Linked DNA regions of Homo sapiens: region 2 is linked to region 1. The links are contacts of gene promoters, found by promoter capture Hi-C in blood cells and fetal thymus (Javierre and others, 2016). All regions are on one chromosome and are shown on one strand. The core of a region is centred on a gene start or on the middle of the fragment in contact, and the rest is flanking DNA. Distances in the headings are between cores, read along the strand shown. Region 1 holds the start of MLKL (mixed lineage kinase domain like pseudokinase). Region 2 overlaps CFDP1 (craniofacial development protein 1).

The links. Contacts are between HindIII fragments. The CHiCAGO score rates a contact against its expected background, and 5 or more counts as called.
Region 2: a contact is called between a fragment that was not itself captured here and the fragment with the promoter of MLKL in region 1, in 4 of 17 cell types (M1 macrophages, fetal thymus, erythroblasts and 1 more). The highest score is 6.2, in M1 macrophages.

Annotation. Positions count from the first base shown.
Region 1 is chr16:74,696,796-74,704,475 of GRCh38, reverse strand. MLKL (mixed lineage kinase domain like pseudokinase) reads left to right here and starts at 3,614. Exons shown (of 11, transcript NM_152649.4): 1 at 3,614-4,023. RefSeq lists an enhancer at 3,711-4,160. The HindIII fragment of the contact is 1,546 bases long and covers 3,365-4,910 here.
Region 2 is chr16:75,376,064-75,383,743 of GRCh38, reverse strand. The region is part of intron 5 of CFDP1 (craniofacial development protein 1); the gene reads left to right. Among named protein-coding and RNA genes, the nearest start is that of CFDP1, 54 kb to the left of the region's middle. RefSeq lists enhancers at 3,118-3,227, 6,640-7,137. The HindIII fragment of the contact is 3,092 bases long and covers 3,135-6,226 here.

The DNA of each region.
Region 1 (7,680 bases), core at 2,365-4,864:
ATTTCTAGTTTTATTCTATTGTGGTCAAAGAAGATGCTTTGTATGATTTTGATCTGTTTAAATTTATTGAGCAAAATATATCTTCATTTCTCTTGAGAAAATGTCCTTTTTGACTCATGAATTATTTAGAAGCATATTATTTGACATGTGATTTGCAAACATTTTCTCCCAATCTGTAACTTGTCTTTTCATCCCCTTAAAAGGGTCTTTGCAGAGCAAGTTTCAAATTTTGATCAAGTCTGATTTATCATTTTTTAATTTTAAGAATAATGGCTTTGGGGCCAGGCGCAGTGGCTCATGCCTGTAATCCCAGCACTTTGGGAGGCCAAGGCAGGTAGATCACTTGAGGTCAGGAGTTCGAGACCAGCCTGGCCAACATGCTAAAACTCCATCTCTACTAAAAATACAAAAAAAAACTAGCCAAGCGTGGTGGCACATGCCTGTAGTCCCAGCTTGTTGGAAGGCTGAGGCAGGAGAATTGTTTGAGCCCTGGAGGTGGAGGTTGCAGTAAGCTGAGATCACAGCACTGCACTACAGCCTGGCAACAGAGGGAGACTCCGTCTCAAAAAAAAAAAAAAGAAAGAAAAAGAAAAGAAGAAAGAATAATAATGGCTTTGATGTTATGCCTAAGAATTCTTCGCCTAGCCTTAGGTTCTGAAGATTTTCTTCTACATGTTCTACAAGTTTTTTTTTTTTTCAAATGTTTGTGATTTTTTTTTTCAAATGGCAACTCCAAGATAAAGCCAAAGAAACTGGGAATTATTTTTAATATTGTACAATTTTTAGTATGAATAGCCATTCTTATTAAATAGACTCATTTGGCCAGGCAAGGTGGCTCAAGCTCGTAATCCCAACACTTTGGGGGGCCAAGGCATGAGGATTGCTTGAGTTCAGAAGTTCAAGATCAGCCTCAGCAACACAGGGAGACCTCTGTCTCTACTAAAAATAAAAACATTTTAAAGGGCTCATTTAAACTTTTTTCTTTTCTTTTTTTTTTTTTTTTTTTTTGAGACGGAGTCTCACTCTGCCACCCAGGCTGGTGTGCAATGGCGCGATCTCGGCTCACTGCAAGCTCCGCCTCCTGGGTTCACATCGTTCTCCTGCCTCAGCCTCCCGAGTAGCTGGGACTACAGGCACCCGCCACCACATCCGGCTAATTTTTTTTTGTATTTTTAGTAGAGATGGGGTTTCACCGTGTTAGCCAGGATGGTCTTAATCTCCTGACCTCGTGATCCGCCCACCTCGGCCTCCCAAAGTGCTGGGATTACAGGCGTGAGCCACTGCGACCGGCCCTAAACTTTTTTCAAACATTTACATTTTCTCAACAGGAAATGTCCTTTCATTCTGCACAGTTCTCTCTGCTTTCTTCTAAAAGGTTCCTTGTTTTACATTTTACATTTAAATCTCTGATCCATTCAGGCAATTTTTGCATAGAATATGAGGTTTAGGTGAAGTTCATTTTTTTGTTCAGTTACTCCACCACCATTTGAACACCACCTATCTGGCAAAGGATTAATATCTAGAATATTTAAACTCTCAAAACTCAAGTTTTTTAAAAAGAATTCAACTAAAAATGGGCAAAAGACATGGACAGACATTTCACCAATGAGGCTATACAGATGGCAAACAAGCACATGAAAACATGTCCATCATCACCAGGCACTAAAGAAATGCCAATTAAAACCATGATGAGACCAGGCGCAGTGGCTCATGCCTATAATCCCAGCACTTTGGGAGGCCAAGGTGGGTGGATCACCTGAGGTCAGGAGTTCGAGACCAGTCTGGCCAATATGGCGAAACGCTGTCTCTACTAAAAATACAAAAAATAGACAGGTGTGGTGGTGCACGCCTGTAGTCCCAGCTACTTGGGAGGCTGAGGCTGGAGAATCGCTTGAACCCAGGAGGTGGAGGTTGCAGTGAGCTGAGATGGCGCCACTGCACTCCAGCCTGGGCAACAGAGTAAGACTCTATCTCAAAACAAAACAAAACAAAAAACCATGATGATATATCACTATTCACCTGTTAGAATAGCTAAAAATTCAGGCAGGGACAAAATAAAATGCTGCTGAGGATGCAGAGAAACTGAATGTCTTGTACATTGATGGTGGGACAGTAAAAAAAAAAAAAAAGAAAAGAAAAGAAAAAAACTTCCAAAAGGTTATACATTGTATGATTTTGTTTATAGCAGATCAGTATACCCATCCTGCAGCTGCTATGAGTGTTGACAGCTAAACACTCACACAGCTTCCCCCTCGTCCAGAAGAATTGCCCTGGGCAGAAAGGAGGCTGCCTCTTGTTCCAGACCTTCACATTCCAGACCTCCCCATGGAGCCTCCACTGACTACATACTTGTTTCACTTTTTCTTCCTCTGCCCTATCATACCCACCACTCTCCTAAGAGTCTTCCTTCAATAAATCACAGGCACCTGTGTTACTTGTTGAAGGTGTCCAGGTTCTTGGCATCTTGAACAAAGAAATGGGCAAAATGCACAAAGCAAGGAAAGAATGAGGCAACAAAAGCAGAGATGTATTGAAAACAAAGGTACACTCCACAGGGTGGGAGCCAGCGTGAGCATAGGGGCTCAAGAACTCCGTTACAGAATTTTCTGGGATTTAAATACCCTCTAGAGGCTCCCATTGGTTAATTGGTGTACACCCTATGTAAATGAAGAAGATGAAGTGAAGTTGCTCAGTCACTTACTCAGTGAACGCCATATGTAAATGAAGAAAATATTTCCTGTCATAGCTGAAATGTGTCCATTTTATTTAGTTCTAAGAAGTCAGCGTGAATCAGCTTTATGTTCCCTGCCTGCAGACCCTATTCTCCTGCCTCACCTCAATCTCTTCACCTAAGACAGGAAGAAAACTGATGATGCAGGAGACGAAGAACAATAGCAAGGCGAAGAAATGAATCTCCAAGGCCGGCTTCAAGCGATTCTCCCCTCTCAGGCTCCCGAGTAGCTGGGATTACAGGCATGCACCACCACGCCTGGCTAATTTTTGTATTTTTAGTAGAGACAGGGTTTCCCCATGTTGGCCAGGATGGTCTTGAACTCCTGACCTCAGGTGATCTGGCCACCTCCGCCTCCCAAAGTGCTGGAATTACAGGCATGAGCCACCACACCCAGCTCCCAGTTCTGTTCTTTTAGAGGCAAATAGTCTGTTGAGTAAATGCATAACACTACTTAGACTTTCTAGCTGAAGATGTAGTTAATCTTAAGAAAACCTGACTCACACTGTAACAGGATGTTCTGCAATGACCTTAGAAGAGGAAGTGACTTTTTTCCCACTTTGGTGTCTCTTCCCTCGTACCCTCCCCACCCCGCCAATATTATCCAGCACAGAGAAGCAAACACCAGAAGCTTCTCTCCAACTTTCAGTTTTTCTCTAAACTTCCAGTCCTTCTCATACTGTGTCCTGGTTATAATAGTTGCTGGGACCTTATTCTATTCTGAATCCCCAGCCCCTAAAGAAGGCTTGGTACTGACGTGTACAGCGTAGTTACCCAGTGACTTTGGGGAAGGCAGGAAGAGTGTGGAAAGGACAGGAGGAAGGAAGGGAGGGGCCGTGGCTCCGAGCTGCCTAGAAAGCGGCTCCAGGGAGCCAGGGCACCGTGAGCCTGGTGGTTGGCAGCTGGAGCCACGTCGGAGGGGGAAGTGTCGCAGCATTCTCTGCAGGCATCACAGACCTGAGGCAGTGGCCTCCGGAGGGCACTGGACAGAAACAGCCATCCAAGTGGCTGAGTGGAGGGACCCTGCTCAAGTGCAGCTGCAGTGGCCGGGGTTTCCCTCAGGTAGGGATCGGGGCGCCTTGTCGCCGCCAGCCACGTGTGGCGTCCGGTACAGTCAGCAGAGTGCAGGGTGCGGGCACCAGGAAAGGGGGCGCAGGGGAACTCCCGCGGGCCTCGCGTTTGCAAACTTCTCGCCTGGGCAGGAGGCGGTCGTGGGAAAGAAGGTGGAAGAGCGAGCTTTTTGGAACTGTGCACGGGACAGATTGGACGCACACCCCTCGGGAGGCGCGAAGGTGAGCATGGGGTCTTCCCAGGAGGCGGCGGGGCCGAGGGGCTGCAGCCGAATTCCTGGACGGTGATGGGAAGAACCAGGGGTGAGGGTGGCCCGGTCCGAGTTCCTGGAACTCAGGACCGAGTTGGTTTCATTTCCTCAGCTCTGATGGTGGAGCTGCCTGCTCGGATCTCGCACTACCTTCCGCCAAAGCGAGACGCCCAGTAGCAGTGGGGGTCGTGGAGGGCAGGGGCACGGGAACAAGTTACCTGATGTCTTCTCAGAAAAAGGAAGTCTTCAGGTTTGCAGGCTGAAGGCGTGAGAGAGAGACAGAGTGAGAGAGAGAGAAGAGGGAAATGCCTGATAACCTTTACTTATTTTATTTTATTTTTATTTTTTATTTTTTGGAGGGAAGAGGTGAATTTGCATTGTTATTACCATTTAAAGATTTTTCACTTTTAAAATTAGTAACCTGTTTTCTCATCGTAACATATGAACATAATCCCCTTTTTCTTTTTATTTATTTATTTTGAGAGATGGAGTCTTCCTCTGTTGCCCAGGCTGGAGCGCAGTGGCACAATCATAGCTCACTGCAGCCTCCGAACTCATGGGCTCAAGTGATCCTCCAACCAGATCCTCCCAAGTAGCTAGGACTACAAGGTGCACATCACCACACCCAATTAAATTTTTTTTGTATTTTTTGGTAGAGCCAGGGTCTCGCTTTGTCACCCAGGCTGGTCTCAAACTCCTGGGCTCAGGTGATCCTCCTACCTCACCCTCCCAAAGTGCTGGGATTACAGGTGTGAGCCACTGCAGCTGGCCTGAACATATTCTTAGCTGTTTGTTTTACATATTATAAATAGCACTGCAGTGAACATCTCGGTAGCCATCTATCTACAAACACAAGCTTTTCTACATCATAAGTTCCTAGAAATTCAAATTGCCCAGTCTAAGTGTGTATATATGTATATTCCCTTTCTTCCCTTGTAGATCATATACTTAATAAGACCTTAAACAATTTAAGTTATTGTAGGGTGCTTTTTCCCAATATTTTGCAGTTTTTAATATATTTTAATTTCATACAGGCAAGTCCCCTTTTCTTTATTTTTTAAAATCCTGGTTATCCCTACTAATTTCCCATTTCAAATGAACTTTAGGATCATTTTGATTTAATGCCAAAATATGTCAGTAGATGTTTTATTGGAACTGCATTAAATTGGATTTAAATTTGGGAAGGATTGCTGGGTTGGTCTGTTTTAGTCTTCCCAGCCAGAAATATAACACTTCTCTTTCCTCCTTTCTTCAAGCTTTGTTTTGTGCAATTTTCTTTCTTTCTTTTTTTTTGTTTTTGTTTTTGTTTTTGAGACGGAGTTTTGCTCTGTTGCCCAGGTTGGAGCACAGTGGTGTGATCTCGGCTCAGTGCAACCTCCACCTCCCGGGTTCAAGCAATTCTCCTGCCTCAGCCTCCCGAGTAGCTGGGATTACAGGCGCCTGCTACCATGCTTGGCTAATTTTAGTATTTTTAGTAGAGATGGGGTTTCACCATGTTGGCCGGGCGATCTCAAACTCCCGACCTCAGGTGATCCACCTGCCTCGGCCTTCCAAAGCGCTGAGATTACAGGCATGAGCCAATGTGACCGCTGCAATTTTCTTCATACCATGCCACCACTGTATAATTTATTATTTGAAATTGTTTGTCAGTTCTATGGGTGGGATATTTTCCCCATTTTCCTTTCTGATTAGTTCAGTGCTGAGATATGGCTTTCTGATGAGGCTGCTGGTAAGATAACTGGAGCTTAGAGCTAGGAAGCTACAATTTGCAAGATTCCTTGAACAACATTGCCACATTTGCTTCTGTTTCTGGTGCAACAGAGAAAGTGTAAAACCTTTTGCCCTCACAATTCCCAAGAAATGGCCTTGAAGATATCTGCTTAGCACGTGGGAATAGCTGGGTAGTCTGAGATCCACTAGTCTTTTTAGGAGTGCCCTAATAACTGTTACCTCCCTTGCCCAATCACTGTAACTCTCAGGCAACAAAAACACAACTATATCGATTGCTCATTTATTTAGTTTCACTTCTGCCAGTGCCTTACTCATGTTTTAAAGCCATACTTGGGCTCCAGGCCAATTATTTTCTCCAAGCTGCTAATTAATCCATAAACTGGCGATAATACTTAACCTACCTATTTCACTGAGCTGTTAAAAAAAAAAAAACTAACTTTGTTTTTTGTTGTCGTTTGTTAGTGGTGGTGGTGGTGGTGTTTTTGAGACACTGTCTCATTCTGTTGCCCATGCTGGAATGGAGTCAGTGGCACAATCATGGCTCACTGCAGCCTCGACCTCCCAGCCTCAATCAATTCTCCCTCCTCAGGCTCCAGAGTAGCTGGGACTACAGGCAAGCACCACCACATCCAGCAAATTTTTGTATTTTTTTGTAGAGACAGGGTTTCACCATGTTGCCCAGGCTGGTCTCGAACTCAGGCTCATACGATCCCCTGGCCTCAGCCTCACAAAGTGCTGGGATTACAGGTTTGAGTCATGACACCCTACCCTAACTTTATTTTAAATACTTTGAAAACTGGTTCCATGGCCTTGTGATTATTTGAATGCAACCTCCCTGAACCGCAGCATCTTCACTTTTCACCTGTTTGTTTTTTCGAGACAGGGTCTCTCTGTTTCCCTGGCTGGAGTGCAGTGGTGTCATCATAGCTCACTGCAGCCTCAACCTCCCAGGCTCAAGCGATTCTCCCGCCTCAGCCTCCTGAGTAGCTGGGACTACAGGTCCCAGCTAATTTTTGTATTTTTAGTAGAGATGGGTCTCGCTGTGTTGCCCAGAATGGAACTCCTGGCCTCAAGCAATCTTCCCACCTCTACCTCCCAAAATGTTGGGATTACGGGTATGAACTACTGTGCCCAGATGGTATCTTCATCTGTTAAATGAAAATAACCATGGAGAGCTGGGGGTTCCAAAGCACTTAGGATGTAGTAGGTGAATTGAGAGATCTAGTGTCATAATTATTATCATCATTCATTGCTGAACGCAGTCGGCTTCAGTTGCAAATAAAGCAAACATGATTCAAACTGCCTTAAACAATCAGGGAGGTTATTGGTTCATGAAACCTGCAGTTAGGGGATGGGGTACACTTCATGTCAGTTCAAACCAGTGGCTCAATGTTGTCATCAAAGACTCAGATTCTTTCTCCCTTTCCATTCTACCATGCTCAGGTTAGCCTCATTCCAAGCTTTAGGATCAGGGCTCTGTGCTTCCTCACTCATGTTCAGAGAAGAGAGAGAGGTTAAGAGTAGGAAGCTGGCACTGCAGCCTCAACCTCCTGGACTCAAGGAATCCTCCTATCTCAACTTCCCAGGTAGCTGAGACTACGGGTGTGTGCCACCACACCAGGCTAACTTATATATATAATATATATGTAATATTATATATATGTATTACTATATATATGTAATATTATATATATGTATTACTATATATGTAATATTACATATATATTACTATATATATGTAATATTATATATATTACTATATATATGTAATGTATTACATTTTTTTGAGATGGTGCAACCTCCACCCCCTGGGTTCAAGCAATTCTCCTGGCTTAGCCCTCCGAGTAGCTGGGATTACAGGCATGCACCACCACACCTAGCTAATTTTTGTATTTTT
Region 2 (7,680 bases), core at 3,431-5,930, 680 kb before region 1:
AGGTCCAAGCAATTCTCCTGCCTCAGCTTCCCGAGTAGCTGGGACTAAAGGCGCCCACCACCATGCCCGGCTAATTTTTGTATTTTTAGTAGAGGCAGGGTTTCACCATATTGGCAAGGATGGTCTCGATCACTTGACCTCATGATCCGCCCACCTCGGCCTCCCAAAGTGCTGGGATTACAGGTGAGAGCCACAGCGCCTCGCTGGGGCTGTATCTTATTGATCCTTTGCAAATGCTGTGTGCTGCTTCACTCTTAGGTTCTTTGTGTTGGAAAGTACTATCTCAAAATGTTTTAACATCAGGGAAGAATGTCATTCATCCTAATCATAGCACTAAGCGATTTTTATGTTCTGATTAAAGTTCTTAAAAAGGCAACTTGCTGCTATTTCCTGAAGGGTTCTGACTGTACAGAAAGATTCATATTAGATAAATACTTTAATTTGGATTGAGGAATTTTTCTTTTGGGAGAGGCTGAGCAGCTGTCTTCTAATTATTTTGGTCAAGGATTGAAAATCAGGCTGGTCTGAAGTCCAGCACTTAACTATACTCAGTTACTTGAATTTTGGATTCTGCCACAACCCTGTTACCCAAGCAAACCTATGATAAATTTAAGCTGAAATAATTTAAAGCTAGGCCAATATTTTCCCATCATTGAGGATATGGAAGATTCTAATCAAACATTCATCTTTAGACCTAGTAATTCTGGATGCTTAAGACCATAAAACATAACCTTTTGATTATTAGCATTTCCTTGAATTTGAAATGTAGTACAATTTCAGTAGTTGCTAATTTGAGAATGTGTAGGAAAAACTCATGCTTTGCATTGGCTTCTGCTTTAAACTGAGATCTTTTAGTCCTAGCTGCTTGTGAGATGATGTGCCTGTAGGAAGTGGAAACAAAAGGAGAAGAGTTTTCCCCCACAGTCAAATAGAGCATGACATGACTTGTTTGGCCAGAGGTGAGAATTAGGAAGATCCAAGGAATATCATGTACAAAAATGCTCTTGATCTTGGTCTCTTGTATAGCGTTACTTGCTTCAAAGCAAAACTTGGAGGAAAAGTTTCCTTTAGAACAGTAACCACAAGCATCACGTCTGCTTTTCAGCCATGTTTCTGTGTTGTGCTGTGGGGTTAACTAAATCCAAATTTTTGATACCATTTCAAAAGGGCACGCTGATTTAGCCTGTGTTAGACCAGTCTGACCTCAATTTCTCTGTCTTGAGGTGGTGAAACCAGCTTTCCTATTGGGCTAACTTGGATCAGCTGTGTGTTTCACAGTATCCTGCAAGCCTAAGCCAGGCAGAATTTCAGCTGTGTAAAGGCTTAGATTATGAAGTATCTATCTGTCTTTATAGAATATATTTTTTAAACCCTTTGAAGTAGAACTTCTAACACCATAATGAAAGCAAAGGATCAGTGTTTTCGAGGGATACTAGGGAAGGTCTGTGACAAAGACTTTTATTTTCCTTATATTTTATCAATCACTCAGGAAATTAGTTGGCAGTGGAAAATGGAACACAACTCTATCCCAATATAGTATGTCATCTAATTATGGTACTCTATCTCAGAATACCCCTTCTCAGTAAGACTGGTATGCCTCTGAGCTTTTTTTTTTTTTTTCTTTTTTGAGACAGGGGTTTCACTCCTGTTGCCCAGGCTGGAGTGCAGTGGCAAGATCTCAGCTCACTACAACCTCTGCATTCTGGCTCAAGTGATCTTCCCACCTCAGCCTCCTGTGTAGCTGGGACTACAGGCATGCACCACCATGCCTGGCTAATTGTCTCTGAGCTTTCGACTGCTACCTTTCTTATATTTGCTTAGGGTTTTCCCAAGATTCATAGGCCTCTTGTCTTTATGCATCTAATAGTATCATCTACTGCTACAACTTTAACCATCTTTTCAACACTGATGATTCTCCCTCTGCTCTGTCCTTTCAGTACTGCTTTTCTCCTGAACTCCAGACCCATATCTCTTGCTGCTTGCAAGCAGTTTATTCTGAATCCCCTTGACTCCACAACTGGTCCAGTATTTAACTCAGTTTCCCTAAATCCTCCCATATTACAGAAGTGAAGAAACCAACATGTGAAATTCAGTAGCTTGCCAAAGAGAGAGAACCTGGACTAGAAATCTGAGGCTTCTTTCCAGTCTAGTGTTCTCATCTGCTGGGCCAAAACTGCCTGTCGTTGGTAGAGGGAGAATATACCACTATTTTCCTCAATAGTAGTTGAGCCCCAACCTCAGTGTCACCTTTAGTTTTTCCCTTTCTTGTCTTTCCCCCTAGCCCCTAACTGCCCAATCCAATGAGTCCTTTTAACTCTACTCCCAAAATGTCTGTAAGTATTCATTCATATCCCCCTCCCTCATTTTATCTCCACTCTCATTGCCTTTTTTCTGGGTCTTACATTCTTTCTTTTTTAAAAAACTATTTTAATTTTAATTTTTTATTGAGACAGGGTCTCACTTTGTTACCCAGGCTGGTCTCCAACTCCTGCCTTCAGGCATTCCTCCCATGTTGGCCTCTGAAAGTGCTGGGATTACAGGTATGGGCCATTGCTCCTGGCCCTGGGTCTTACATTCTGAAGCATCTGTCACTATGTAATTAGAATATTTTCTAAAATCTTTTGAAAGGCTTGGACTATTGTAATCATTTCCTAAGTTTACATAAAGTCTGTAGTCACTCTTCCTCTCTCCACTCTACGTGCCACTGCTGGGGTAATTTGGCAGAGATTTAGCTTAGATAGTGTCACATGCTCAAAAATTTTATCTTTGTTGTCTATTAGTAAGTTCTAGTTTATTGAACTGCTACTGTCGATTGCTAACTCTCAAAAAAATCCTTCAGTTCACTGTCAGTATTTCCTTTTATGTTTAATATGTTTTTACTCTTTAGCGAGGTTTTATCTGTGGTGTGATCTTATATGACCTGGTTTTAAAAAGTGGGGATGAATTTGCTTTTTCTAGATGCTCTTGCCTGGGCCAATTTTTATGTTAATTCTTTGGTTTGGAGTGCCTGGAACATTCAGATATTATAATTGAAAGTATAATTTTGAAGCCCAAATCTATGTGGGTTGCAGGCCCAGGGTTCGTTCCGGTTCTTAAAAGAGACCTTTCTTCCTACCCGCTACAGCCCAAAAGCTTAGATACACTTTCTTCTCTGTTCCTTGGGCTGTTATGTGATTTTTTTTTTTTCCTAACTCTTTCCTTTCATTGAGGATGCATTGACTTTCCACTTTTAGCCTTAGTTCTAGTTCTCTACTGCCTGTAAGCTCAAGACCATTTTTATTATCACGTGGCAAATAAAACCCCGACTGGAAGTTATTGAAACTGTCTTCCCCCACCCCACCCTGCCGGCTGTAACCACTATTTCAGCTCATGTGCTCTACTGTGGTTTTCAGTTCCTTCTTTGATCCAAATACCCGGAGGTTGCCCATTCTTTCTTATGAGTTTAGCTATACACTTAAAATAATTTTTGGTATATTTTATGTAGCATTTCTAGGTCTTTATCTGGAAAATGTTTAGGTTATCTTAAGTATCCATCTTGCCTAAAATGGAAGTTCATCGGCTTTAAGTGCAGATACCCTATGTAGCTTTTCTTTCTTTTTTTTTTTTCAGATGGAGTTTTGCTGTGTTGCCCAGGCTGGAGTGCAGTGGCACAATCTCAGCTCAGTGCAACCTCCACCTCCTGAGTTCAAGCGATTTTCCTGCCTCAGCTTCCTAAGTAGCTGGGACTACAAATGAGTACCTGCACGCCTGTCTAATTTTTGTATTTTTAGTAGAGACAGGGTTCCACCATGTTGCCCAGGCTGGTCTCAAACTCCTGGGCTCAAGTGATATGCCCATCTCGGCCTCCCAAAGTGCTTAGATTACAGGCATGAGCCACTACGCCCAGCAATCCCTTTACCTTTAAAAAAATAAATAAATAAACCTTTAATTTTAAGAGGTTGTATACTCATGTGTAGTCATATAAACTAGTGCAGAGATTCCTTGTTCCTTTGACCCAGTTTCCCCCTATGGTACCATCTTATAATATTACAACTGGGATATTTACATTGACAGATATAGTCAAGATACAGAACATTTTCATATCTGCTAAGATTCCTCATGTTCTCTATAGCTACATACACTTTCCTCCTGCCCTCACCCCCTCCTTAACCTCTGGTAATCACTAATCTAGAGATTTCCTTTTTGGGAGTTTTTAAATGACAAATTGTTTCCTTAATAGTTACAGGGCTCTTTCATATTGAGTGTCTTGTGGTTTGTCTTTTTTGAGGAATTAGTCTATGTTGCCAAATTTATTTGGGTAGAATTCTGCATAATATTCTCTTATCCTTTTGATACTTGTAGTGATATCCCATTTCATTACCTCCGATATTGGTAATTTGTGCCTTCTCTCTCTCTCTCTTTTTTTTTTGGTCAGTCTTGCTAGACGTTTGTCGATTTTATTGATCTGTTCAAAGAACCAGCTCTGTTTCATTGATCTTTCCCTTTATGTTTTCAATTTCATTTACTTCTATAATTATTTCCTTGCTTCTGCTTGGTTTGCCTATATATTGCTCTTTTTTTTTACTAGATTCTTGAAGTTGGAGCTTAGATTATTGATTTGAGACTTTTCCTCTTTACACTGTATGTATTTCTTACTACACATTTCCCTCACACTGCTTTAGCTATATTCAACAATTTTTGATACATGTATGATTTTATTCCGTTCATTATTTTTTTAATTCCCTTGAGACTTTCTTTTTGACCCATGCATTATTTAGAAGTGTATTGTTCCATTTCCAAGTTTTCAGAGAGTTTTCTGTTGTCTTTCTGTTGTTGCTTTCTAGTTTGATCATGTTGCTGGTGAACACATTCTTTGTGATTTCAACTCTTTTAAATTTGTTGATATTAATTTTATGGGCCAGGATGTGGTCTGTCTTGTATATTCTGTGGACACTTGGAAAGACCAGTATCTTTGTTTTTACCCCAATATCTTTTAAATAAATTCCTTTTTTGTCGGCCAGTCAGTGTCTGTGTCTTGCACTAAACTCTAACTACTACCCCTTTGCAACTGCATTTGTTTAATAGCCTTTATTGTAGCACTAACTATCCCATACTCCCTCATCGTCAGTTTTACACCTTAGTCTCCATCACTACGCTGTGAGCTTGAAGGCGTAGATTTTGTCTTTTTTGTATGTGTCCAGCCTGGTACGTGGCAAATAATTTATAGTATTTGATTAAGGAGTAAATGAATAGCTTTTATTAATGATCACCATTTTTTAAAACTTTGATCTGTGGAAATTTAGTTCTTATCCTTTTAGTTTTGCATATTTTGTCAGTTTTCATCTTAAAAGCAGGGTGGTTTTGGTTTCATAGCTTGTGTTCAGCAAGTAGCTGACCCCAAAAACAGACTGTAAATGTCTGTTATATGATTGGAATGACATTTTATTTCAGCTTAATCATGCCATAGTTCAAGCAGAGACGTGAGATGCTCCTTACTCATTCCACAAGACCTATTTTGCAATTCCTGCTATTTCCTTTATTTCAGGTTGACTTGTCCTCTAGTTGTAGAAGTGTTGTTTCCATAGCAATGCAGCTTACAACGCACATCCCTGTCAGAGTGCACAGAAACCCTGCTGTGTTGCCTGGAAGCCTTGTTTTCCAGTCAGAAAGGAAGCACATGGTATTCCCTCAGCCTTTCCTGCACTTAACTTTGGCTTGCCTTGTGGATAACAAGAAACTCTTGGTTGTTTTCTACCATAGATGCTGGGTTAAAATGTATCTAAGGGATTTTGATGTATAATGTGCCCTGTTACTACAGTGTTCAGGCTGTGGCTGGTGACTGCTAGCGAAGTTGCTGCGTGAAATAGATGTAGGGGACGTTACAGGAATGTGAGCTAAACAGTCTGCCACTCAGCATGAAATTCTATTTATTGCTAAAGCAGTTTGGGGCAACTGCATGTTTGTTGCTTTGGATGATTTTCTTTTGGTTTTTACTGCCTATGAGAACACAATAGAACTGAGTGAACCTCGAGAAGTGGAGAAGCAAACTGTTGGCCTTTCTGAGTGGTTTCCCTGACCTTCAACTAGGAGCATATTTAGTGACTTCATGTTTTTCTTCCTTTGGAACTAAATTGACTAGATTGTACTTGAACACAAGGAGTCTTTTTCATATCTTCTCTCACATTTAGTTTCTTCTTTGCCACCTTTTTCTTTTCTTTATTTCTTTTGTTACTTCAGCTGGAAAGCTTGTTATATGGACATTCATTGGAAATATTCAAGAAAGAGTTGAGTTATAAATAGAGCAGGATTTCAGAGAGACAAGGATATCATCTTAATTGTGATTGGTCAATAAATTGAAGAGATTTGTGTGGACTCACACCAATATAGTGGTAGAAGAATGATGGAGAGCATTTTAATGATAATTATACTCCACACTTCAATATTTTCTCAGTCTTCATGTATTCATCTATTCATCATGTATCAAACAGCATTCATTAAGTACTGCTTTTTGGTTCCCATAGCATTTGACTTTTATGGCAGGAGGTAGGTTCATTATCACAGGGGCCTTAAGTGTTCAATTTAATGAGTTTTCACAATTGAATACATCCATATAACTGATACAGGGCACAGCCAAGCCCCCAGTTGGGGCTTAGCCCTGGAGGGTCTTGGCTTTGCTCAGGAAGTAATTCAAGAGCTAGCTGGTGGTAGAAGAAAACAGCTTTATTGAAGCGGCAGTGTTAACAGCTCCTTGACTGCTCCTGCAGAGCAGGGTTACCGCATAGGCATTGTGCTGAGAGTAGCAGCTCAGGGCAGTTCTGCAGTCATATTTATATCTACTTTTAATTACATGCAGATTAAGGGGCAGTTTATGCAGAAATTTCTAGGAAAAGGGTAATAACTTCTGGATCGTCAGGTCATTGCTCTGGGAAGGGGCGGTAACTCTCAGGTGTTGTCATACCAATGGTAAACTGACATAGCACACTGGTGGGTGTGTCTTACAGAAAGCCGCTTCTGCCCCATACCTGTTTTAGCTAGTCATCAATTTGGTTTGGTATCCAAGCCCTGCCTCTGGAATCCTGTCCTGCCTACTACTTCATAGCCACTATCCAAGATAAGGTATAGTATGATTCCGTCACTCCAGAAAGTTCCCTCATGCCCCTTTCCAGTTGCTTTTGCCCTATGCTCTTTGCCCCAGGCAACTACTGATTTTTATCATGATAGATTAGTTTTGCTTTTCCAGAACGTCATGGAAATCAAAGCATACATTTTTTAAATTTTTGTGCCTGGATTCTTTTACCTACAGTGAAAGAACATGTATTTGAGACTTATCATGTTGCTGTGTATATCAGTGGTTCATTGCTTTTTATAAATTGTTCATATATACCACAGTTTATCCATCTATCCTGCTGATAAACGTATGGGTTATTTCCAAATCTTTTTGAAGACATATGTTTTTATTTATCTTGGGTACCTAAATACCTAGGAATGGAATTGCTAGGTCATGGAGTAGATGTGTGCTTAATGTTTTTGTTTTGGTTTTGATTTGGTTTTTCTGAGACAGGGTCTTGCTCTGTCACTCAGGCTGGAATGCAATGGCATAATCACAGCTCACTGCAGCCTTGAACTCTGTGGCTCAAGAGATCTTCCCACCTCAGCCTCTCGAGTAGCTGGGACTACAGGTGCACACCACTATGTCTGGCT